Regions from separate parts of the Homo sapiens genome. Here region 1 is linked to region 2. The links are contacts of gene promoters, found by promoter capture Hi-C in blood cells and fetal thymus (Javierre and others, 2016). All regions are on one chromosome and are shown on one strand. The core of a region is centred on a gene start or on the middle of the fragment in contact, and the rest is flanking DNA. Distances in the headings are between cores, read along the strand shown.

Region 1 (5,520 bases), core at 632-3,131, 140 kb before region 2:
TGGCTCAAACTCGTATTCTCTACTTGGCCTTTATTTTTTATTTTTTTAAGTAGAGATGGGGTTTCACCACGTTGGCCAGGCTGGTTTTGAACTCCTGACCTCAAGTGATCTGCCTGCCTTGCCCTCCCAAAGTGCTGGGATTACAGGCACAAGCCACCACGCCTGACCTACTTGGACTTTTTCAATCAAATCCCAGCCCATAGCTCCTTATAACTCCCTCTGGCATCTTTATAGTATACTGAAAAGTATTTTAAAAGGCCTTAGGATACTAATCACACACAGTAAAGTATTTTAAAAAGAATTAAGTCAACATAAGCCATCTTTTCTCCCAGTGTCTATTAGAATGAAATTTCCCCTGTCATTTTTCTGATTGTTTCCCTATCTATTTAATAACTAGGGTACACGTCAGACTTGTCCTGAGAAGTTCCATTCCTGAGGAAAAGCTATGCATGATTGTCTTATTTTGGAAATCTCAAATGTGGGATTCGTGTAATGGGCTTTGATAAAGGATGTTAAGGGGCAAAGTTAAGGCAGCCTTGTAAAGGTCAACTTGGAAACTAAATATCAGTAGGGAGTTATCTCAGTGGCTATAAGTTAAGACAACAGAATAAAAACTGATATTTGAGACATAAAAATGGCCCAAAAGATGGGTGTAATGAGCCCATGAGTCCCCAGTATAACATGAAACTTGCCCATCTGCGTGGTGTACGGCATTTGGTGTTACTCATGTTGGTCTCATCAGTTTGCCCACCTAAATAAATTCATCTTACAACAATAGTTCTATAACATCTAGAAGTAAGTTCCCTCCTGTAGCCCACTTCATCAGAAACTTCTTGGCAACACCTGAACCTAGCTGGAACTGGAAAAATATTTGATGGTAGTGATTTCCTGATAAATAGTCTAGAGCTGTTGCAAACAAAATCCAAGGATTGCTCTTTTTAGACACAGTCTTGCTCTGTCGCACAGTCTAGAGTGCAGTGGCTTGATGTTGGCTCACTGCAACCTCCGCCTCCTGGGTTCAAGCGATTCTCCTGCCTCAGCCTGCCGAGTAGCTGAGATTGCAGGTGCGTGTCACCACACCCCACTAATTTTTTGCATTTTTAATAGAGACGGGGTTTCACCACATTTGTCAGGCTGGTTTTGAACTCCTGACCTCAAGTGATCCACCCACCTTGGCCTCCCAAAGTGCTAGGATTACAGGTGTGAGCCACTGTGCCTGGTTAAAGGGTTGCTGTTTAAATGAACTATTTGCTTATGCTCTAAGTCAGCATGGATGGGATCCATAGATCTTTCCCGAAGTCTTAAAAATTAGTCTCTTGACTTAGTGGCATGGGAATAGATGTGAAAGAACTTTGTTTTTTTAAAAATATTAATTAATTAATTAATTTTTGAGACAAAGTCTTGCTCTTTCACCCAGGCTGGAGTGCAGTGGCGCGATCTCAGCTCACTGCAAACTCTGCCTCCCAGGTTCAAGTGATTTTCGTGCCTAAGCCTCCCGAGTAGCTGGGAATACAGGTGCACACTGCCAAGCCTGGTTAATTTTGTATTTTTAGTAGAGACGGGTTTTGCCATGTTGGCCAGGCTGGTCTCGAACTCCTGACCTCAAATGATCCTCCTGCCTTGGCCTTTCAAAGTGCTGGGATTACAGGTGTGAGCCACTGTGCCAGGCCAAAATGGGAAAAAGCTTTGTAAAATATAAAATATCCTTTAAATTTAAGAGCTTATGAAGGATATACTGCACACATAATCTAGGTCACGAAAGGATATGCAAGATGAGTATAGATTACTAGGTGATAAATTGGGAAATGCCTTAGTTGCAAAGAAGATAATTCAAATTATAAATACAATGAAGAAATGTGCAGGAAAGATATTTTAGAGGTGGCAAAATTAACCAGTTATTAAGACAATCAGCAGAGGTGGTGGACAGGGATGGTGAATCTCATGCATGTCCAATTTCTAGTGATACTCATTAGTTAAATCCAAACCCTCACTAGTGGCCATGAAGTCCAATGTTTCTTTAAAAAGGCAGTAAGGACCAATGAAGATTTTTTTCCTTGTCCATAGTTTAGTCAAGCTTCTGAACCTTCTCATAGGCCCATGGGTGCACTTCCTTGTAAAATCCAGTTTTGTAAAATTTTAGCAAAGAGCCCTGCTAAATAGGTTTAGCAAGAACTCCCCATCCTCGATATCTGATCACCCTTAATAGCGGATCAGATCTCTTATCTGCCACCATTCTCCAAGTGATGTTTGATCACCCTCGCCTGTCTTCAGCAAGAGCACTTTTAGGTCAGTTTAGCCAAAATTTCCCTACTGGTGATGCTTCCTCTTAGTAATTTTCCATCCACTGACCGCCACCCTGCTCCTTGGCTGTAAATTCTCACTTGCCCATGCTATGTTAGGAGATGAGTCCAATCTCTGTCTCCCAATGCAAGACCCTGTTATGGTGGTTCCTTTGTTTACTGCAGTGTTCCTGAATAAAGTCTCCCTTACCAGGCTTTCACAAGTGCCATTGAATAATTTTTTTTTTAACAAGACTATGATGAATTTTTAAAAGCCAAATCCCTATTGTTTCCCTGATAACATATTATTTCACCAGAAAAATAAATATAAGAAATTCATTTTAAATGTATCTCAAACCATCAGAAAAGGGCTTAACCTTATTGAACTGAGCTACTAGGAAAGAGGAGGAAAGAAGAAGAGTGGAAACCATCGGTCATTCAGTGCAAGCATGTCCGGCTGTCACCAATAAGCTAGCTGTACCTGTCTTAGGACAGAGCTGTATGAAGGAAGTTAATATTTACCAGTTAAAAGAAAAACGAAAGAGGAAAACAGTGATTCAGCACTAAACAGAATTAAGAGTCAGTCATTTGAAATATAGAAAGCCCTAGAAATACCATTACAAACAACAATAATAACAATAAGCCCCCTATTGTATAATAACAAATTGTGCAATAGGTAAAAGATAGATTGTTTAAAGTCTTCTTGGATGTTGTAAGTTATTTTCAGGGCCAAAAAGGAAAAAACTGCTCTTGCAATTCAAGTTCGGGTATATATTTTGCAAATGCTGGCATGCTCAATGCTTCCTGAAGGAGAGGGAGCTATCCTTATTTTGATCAGTTCAGATTGAATGAAAATTTTCTCTGATGCTAATATAGATCCAGTCTCCCAAATTTTAGGTTCCCCACGATTCTTCAAACATCACCAATAAGAGTTCAATGTTCTTGGCTGGGTGTGGTGGCTCACACCTGTAATCCCAGCACTTTGGGAGGCCAGTGTGGGCCTCCCAAAGATCATGAGGTCAAGAGATCGAGACCATCCTGGCCAACATGGTGAAACATGGGCATGGTGGCGGGCACCTGTAATCCCAGCTACTCAGGAGGCTGAAGCAGGAGAATTGCTTGAACCTTGGAGGTGGAGGTTGCAGTGAGCCGAGATCGCACCACTGCACTCCAGCCTGGTGACAGAGCGAGACTTATCTCAAAAAAAAAAAAAAAAAAAAAAAAAAAAAAGAGCTCAGTGTTCAATGTTCTCACTTGGAAGATGTCTCAGTATCTGAGAAGTAGTTTGTCCACGGTCAGGAAACTAGAACTCATTTAAAGAAACTAAATTCTCTCCTATGCTGTTTACATCCATTTGGGGCCACTATTCCCCTTTCCAGCTGTCCTTCTACACAATTCTGTTCAAATATTATTCTTTGAATATATAAGTAATATTAAGAAGTCCTCCTTTCTTATGTCTTAATCATAATTTTACCAGTAGATCTTAAATGAAATCCCTTATATTCTTATCATCACCTATTTGTGTAGGTACAGTTCTTTCATAGTGGACTTAATGTTGGTCTTAGTGAGTGGTTTGTTTTATATATTAAGTATACTTATGCTTTGCTATATTTATTACTATTGGGCACTTAAAGGGGAATGCTTGGAAAAAACTGGGTTGATTTTGCTAGGAATCAACCTTAAAGGGCAGAAGATTATTGAAATTTGACCCTTTCCATCTTAATCTTTGTTCCAAGCAGGAATCTGACTGGGGCTGAAGAGCTTGGTTTTTACCTTGTCCTTATCTTGCATAAGGAATGCTTTTGTTTAGAAAGAGGATCTGAAGGTTTTCTGGTCTGGGACAGGCCACAGCCACTGTGGAACGCAGTGATAATAAAGGATGGATAAGGCTTGCATGCTTTCCTTAGCGAGTTTATACAATCTATCCAATTTAGGCTTTCTTGATTTATATTCTAGAATAATGTCTATATTTGTTTATTTAAGTGGGAATCATTTTAATTTTATTTCTGATTTTTAATCCTATATTTTCTGCATTAGTTATCTCCAAACCTACAATTTAATTAAATTTATCCCAGCGTTTGATCTTAGAATATAACATTCATTCTTGTTTCCTGCATATTCACAAGAAAAATCCCAAGCTGTGTTATCTGAACCATCTGTCAGAAGAGGTTCCAAGGAGAAGGTGTCCAGTGATGAAAGAGCCGAGTTTTCCCTATTTTGAATGTAGGAAACACAGGCTGGTTTTTCTGAAATTAATCCCTGTTCTTTCCATAACAATATTACATTGCACTAGAGGGCCTAACCTAGGGATTGTCTTTTATGTGTAATTCAAATTCTAAGAAGAATAAATTAATTATAGTCCAATCACCACTATAACTCACAGCAGGGAGGAAGGAAGAAGTATGTGGTGTGTCACTCATAACAGGTTGGTGATGTTAGATTATAATTAGATGAACAAAGACACACACAAAATCATAAGAGTCAACCCAACACTCTGATGATAATTCTACATTATCACTATGATGACAACTCTGTATCACACAGTAATCTTTTTTTAAAGACTTAGTGAGATAAGAAAGATAAACAAAGCCCAAGTTATCCTGACATGCAATAGAAATATTACAAATAGTCAACAGATATGATGGTAGACATGAACTAAACCAAATATAAATTTCATCATGGATGCTCACCATGCAATGGTGTGAATGAGAATGCATTGGTACAGTCAGATATCATCCAAGACTTGGAACCTATGTTCAAAACGATCAAAACCAAATTATGTAGCGTCACCTTAAAAAGATGTATGCATTCAAAGTCTGAGGAATTGATTCAAGTCTAATTGAAGATGTAAAAATGTGAAAGTTAAATTAGAGTATTGTTGAACCATGGAAAATCAGGGTTAAGACAAGTGCTGGGGTGAATGTTGGCAGTGTGCCTCCAGGCAACTGCCCACAGGAGAGGGACTATGAATTTTCAATTTCCATTGGTGAGAACTATTGTGAAACGAACATGTCAAATGCCATTCAACATTTAGTTTATATAACTTCCTGTCTGATTCCTTACTCATGTGGTGTTTTAGAAGTTCCTGTTACTTAATTCTCCTGTAATTTAATAAATAGGCATCCTTGCTTTTTGGGCTTGGCTAACAGGTGTCTGCTCTAAGACGTGGCTTAACCCTTAGAATGTAAGCAAAATCAGGTCTCTGAGTCTGCAAGGCTAAAGGCCAGAACCAGGTACATTT
Region 2 (5,296 bases), core at 718-3,217:
GCTCAAACAGCTCACAAGCAAGAAAACAAAAACCTGATTAAAAATGGGCAAAAGACCTGACTAGACATTTCTCAAAAGAAGACATACAAATGGCTAACAGGTTTGTGAAAAAGTACTCAACATTACTAATCATTAGGGAAATACAAATCGAAACCACATTGAGATATCACCTTATTCCTGTTAGAATGGTTATCATCAAAAAGACAAAAGATGACAAGTATTGGCAAGGATGTGAAAAAAACTCCCTCGTACACTGTTGGTGGGAATATAAATTAGTTCAGCCATTATGGAAAACAATATAAGGGTTCCTCAAAAAATTAAAACTGGAATTACCGTATTATCCAGCAATCCACTTCTGGGTACCTTATATATCTACAGGAAATGAACTTAGTATGTTGAAGAAATAACTGCATGTCCAGATTTATTGCAGCACTATTCACAATTGCCAAGATATGCACACAGTGCAAGTGTCCACCAATGAGTAAGGGGATAAAGAAAATGCAGTATATACTCAGTGCAATACTATTTGGCCGTAAAAAGACGGAAGTTCTGTCATTTGTGACAACATGGATACATCTCAAGGAAATTATGCTAAGTGAAGTAAATCAGTCATAGAAAGACAGATAGCACATGATCTCACTCACATGATCGCACTCAAAAAAGTTGATATCATAGAAGTAGAGCAGAGAATGAAGATAATCAGAGGCTAGGGGTGGCTAGGGAGTCAGGGGCTTGAGGAGATACTGGTCAAAAGACATATAATTGTAGCTAGACAGGAAGAATCAGTTCAAGAGGTCTACTGTATAGCATAGTGACTATAGTTAATGATGATATATTGTACATACTGTATTCTTGAAAAATTCTAAGAATGGATATTAAGCGTTCTCACCACAAAAAAATGATAGGTATGAGAGGTAATGCATTTATTAGCTAGATTTAATCCTTCCACAATGTATATATACTTCAAAATATTATGTTGTATGTGGTAAATACAATATTATACGTCAATCTGAAAAATAACTAATTGTTTTTAATTTCACTGAGCTTGAGTTCTTTCTATATTAAGCACATCATGCAAGACACAGTAGTGGGGGTAGATAGATTCTTAAAAGTATTATACAGGTGTTACACAGTGTTAGGGAGCCTGGGTGAAGTACAGACAGCCTCTCCTGGGACTGTTTGTTACAGCTGTATGTAAATCTACAATTATCTCAAATTTCTTTTTTAAAAAGTGAAAACACACACCTGCATTATGTTAACAGACAGTTAGAGGCATTTAAAAAAAACAATGAGTTATGGAATAAAAATGGGACTATGTCTTCCGGAATCTAATAGATTAACTGGAGAGACATGACACAAAATATAGGAGAGCAAAGTATCAATTTAAGAAACTGACCCATTAGTAACACCAAGTATAAAAATTTAAGGATATGGAATATGACCCAAAATTTGAAACATTCAGGGAAACCCATTTCAATAGTGTAGAGGTCACCAAGGCCACATGCAGGTATTGCTATCCCTTTGCTTATTGCTTAATAATGACCCACAGACTAGGAATGCCACACTGAGCAGATGGGTTTTCCTCGCTATTGGTCACTAGAGGGAATGCATAACTGGAAGTGTGACTGACCAAATCCCATTTTGGTAGAGGGTACCTGAAGCGAGAGTAAGAAATGCAATTCCAAATGCAGGGAATCACATGAACAGCCCTCTGTGGAGGAAGAGGAAGAGAACGTGGTCTAGAAGATGCTACCGAGGTGTGAATCATGAGAGAAGGCAGACATGATAGATCTTATTACATCCGGACAAGAAAATTTTGTTTTCAACAAGTTTAAACCATTAAATGGGCAAACATTATTGTGTAATCTGATAATCACTTAGTTATTAAGTAAACAAAAACAAGGAAAATGTAGTACCAACAAGACAGCTGGGCAGTATATAAGAGGCTGTGGCCCAAGGACACTTCCAAACTTGAGAACCTCATTCTTCTAGAAATCCACCCAGAACCTCCACCCTCTGACACCATGGTCAGCTCCTGTTGTGGCTCTGTCAGCTCTGAGCAGAGCTGTGGCCTGGAGAACTGCTGCCGCCCCAGCTGCTGCCAGACCACCTGCTGCAGGACCACCTGCTGCCGCCCCAGCTGCTGCAAGCCCCAGTGCTGCCAGTCTGTGTGCTACCAGCCCACCTGCTGCCACCCTAGCTGCTGCATCTCCAGCTGCTGCCGCCCCTATTGCTGTGAATCCAGCTGCTGCCGCCCCTGCTGCTGCCAGACCACCTGCTGCAGGACCACCTGCTGCAGGACCACCTGCTGCTGCCCCAGCTGCTGTGTGTCCAGCTGCTGCAGACCCCAGTGCTGCCAGTCTGTGTGCTGCCAGCCCACTTGCTGCCGTCCCAGCTGCTGCATCTCCAGCTGCTGCCACCCCTCTTGCTGTGAATCCAGCTGCTGCCGCCCCTGCTGCTGCGTGCGTCCAGTCTGTGGCCGAGTCTCCTGCCACACCACTTGCTATCGCCCAACCTGTGTCATCTCCACCTGCCCCCGCCCCTTGTGCTGTGCCTCCTCTTGCTGCTAATGTCTCCTTGTGATATTTGTCATACTATGAATGTCTTCATTAGTCATTTAAAATGCACTGTAGCCAGCCAGTCACTGGAAAAATGAACACTTCCCTGCCAGTTTGTCTCATGTGGCATTCAGAGTGGACATTCAGCTCTTCTAGGAAATGACAGACAATCACATTCATTAAAATATGTTATGCCAGGCCCCAATGCAGTTATTTTTAGATGAGCAGTGTCTTCATTCGAAGGGGACACTAACTGTGATGATCTCATATAATATTGTTTTCATGTATTAATAAACAGCCACTTCCCTAATATTGAAATCTTCTGATTTGTTAGTGATCTCATTGTGCGTGTGTGTGTGTGTGTGTGTGTGTCTTTACCTGTCAGTTCACATCAAGGGCCATCTCTCTTCAAATGCAGGAGAGCATGTTTAAGAGCCTGGGCTCTTGATTCATGTTCCCTGCATTGGAATCACGACTCCCCTAGGTATTTGTTGCGTGGCATGGGGCAAGTTTTTTAACCTCCTCAGGCCTCAGTTTTCTTTCTCTGTGAATAGAGATAATGCATTACATTCTTTAAATGTTAAGAGACATAACCCATGTAATATACTCACCACAGGGCCTGGTACATAATGCAGTATAGGCTCTTAATGGATACAGTTTCTGGCCGAGCGTGGTGGCTCACATTTGCAATCCCAGCACTTTGGGAGGCTGAGTGGGTGGAACACTTGAGGCCAGGAATTCGAGACCAGTGTGGGCAACATAGTGAAATCCCTTCTCTACTGAAAGTACAAAAATTAGTTGGGCGTGTTGGTGCACACCTGTAGTCCCAGCTACTTGGGAGGCTGAAGCAGGTGAATCACTTGAACCCAGGAGGAGGAGGTTGCAGTGAGCCGAGATCATGTCACTGCACTCCAGCCTGGGTGACAGAGCAACTCTGTCTCAATAAATAAATAAATAAATAAATAAATAAATAAATAAATAAATACAATTTCTGCTGTTACTATGATTGAAACAATACCCTGGGCTAGAATAATATCTTAGCATAATTTTCTTTTTGACAGAACAGCAAGAAAATTTGTATCATTGTTGCGCTGTCTTCTACAACTCAAAATTAAGTTTTGGTATATGCCTCAAGTGTCCCTTAAAAACTCCAGCAAGTTGAACATCATGAAGTCATCTACATTTTGTCTGACTGTATTTCTACTTCCAGTATGTTCCATTATTTGTTGTGGAAATTTTGAGTGTTTTCCCTAGCTCAAGTACTTTTTTCTTGTTTCCTTACTTCCCCCTCCCTCCCCTTCTAATCCCTTTACCTTCCCTCCACCTCCCCTCCCCTTGCCTGCCTACCTGCCTTCCTTCCTTCCTTCCTTCTTTCCTTCCTTCCTTCCTTCCTTCCTTCCTTCCTTCCTTCCTTCCTCCCTCACTCCTTCCTTCCTTCCTTCCTTTTTTCCTCTCTTAACATAAAATGATCTTTCAGAACACAGTCTACCTTCTAAGTCAAGATTTCGGGAAATTTATGACATCTGTGGCAGTTTTCTCATAAAAGTTTTACATCTTTTAATTAATAGATGCTCAAAGTCTTAGTATTTCCAGACTGAAACTCCTTTATAATTTTAGCCCCTAATGTTACTGAGGTTTTTTCATTTTCTTGATAGTTTTACTCCTTTGTTTTGGGCTTTAATCACCTTGCTTTGTCTTAAGAGAACATGGGTGGGACTTTTCCTTGAGACTCAGTTTTCTCATCATCAAAACTCAAACAAGTGTTATTCTATGTAGATGAAAAAATGTGTCACAATATGTGCAAAATATCTTATTTATATAAATATAAGGGTTTATATTTCAGCTAATAATCCAAAGTATATTAAAACTGCTTTAAATCCAAAATTTCTATAAATCAGAATTTTATTTATTAGCTGTGTTATATTTCCAAAGAAATGTAACTAAGAGCTAATTATTATTTCTGAAATGTAAAAATAAAGAAGTTTTAAGTTGTCAAGCGACTGCATGAATAGAAGTTAACATTACGTGGGCTTCACTCCAGCCTAAGTTAGGCGTTATGGTCTTAGCATATCATAAAAATGCCTTGCAGACACTTTCAGCTTCAGCCTTTTCCATTCACTCTAAATTATTCTACAGAGTACAGACTTGTCATTTCATACATCAGAATTAACAAACCTTTTATCCTCTCATATGTTTTTCTTTGACAACTGCTCATTACAGGATGCAGGCTTTGGTTTTAACATTATGCTTTATTAGCTAGAGTGAAATCAAAGACTATAGGTTTTATATGGTCTTTTCAGTATTAAAGTATATGAGGCTTGTAATTTCCTGTGTCCACAAGAACTGGGCCACAGCAGGAATGAGATGACACAGTGTATCTGCGTAATAAAGAGACTATTTGCAAAGGTGTAGCTAGAGTTCAGGGAAAGCAACAAGGGAAAGCTCAGTACCCAGGGCTCACAATAACAAGGAGCAGGTACCCCGGGTCTGAAGGCCTATGCAATAATTTGGGTGAAATGTCCCAAGGGTGGCATGCGAAACTTCTTAGAATAAGTATGCACAGACACTCAAGTACAGTCATTGGCTTTGGAGAGAGTTATGGTGCTCTGAAGGGTCCAAAGATGATATGGAAGACATTGTGGTGAAACCCAAGGTAGACATAAATTTATGAATGGGAAAGTGTGACTGCAGTTATTATTCTGTGGTCACATCAGCTTTATCTAAATGCACAGTAGAGA

Evidence for each region. The method cuts DNA at HindIII sites, captures the fragments that hold promoters and counts their contacts. A CHiCAGO score of 5 or more calls a contact.
Region 1: a fragment that was not itself captured here is called in contact with the fragment with the promoter of KRTAP4-5 in region 2 in 4 of 17 cell types (total CD4 T cells, naive CD8 T cells, non-activated CD4 T cells and 1 more); the score reaches 5.8 in total CD4 T cells.

Annotation. Positions count from the first base shown.
Region 1 is chr17:41,284,537-41,290,056 of GRCh38, reverse strand. No RefSeq gene overlaps it. Among named protein-coding and RNA genes, the nearest start is that of KRTAP9-7, 12 kb to the right of the region's middle. The HindIII fragment of the contact is 390 bases long and covers 1,687-2,076 here.
Region 2 is chr17:41,146,496-41,151,791 of GRCh38, reverse strand. It overlaps KRTAP4-5 (keratin associated protein 4-5), which reads left to right and starts at 1,967. Exons shown (of 1, transcript NM_033188.4): 1 at 1,967-2,868. The coding sequence starts at 2,025. The coding sequence ends at 2,570. The HindIII fragment of the contact is 5,677 bases long and covers 1-5,296 here.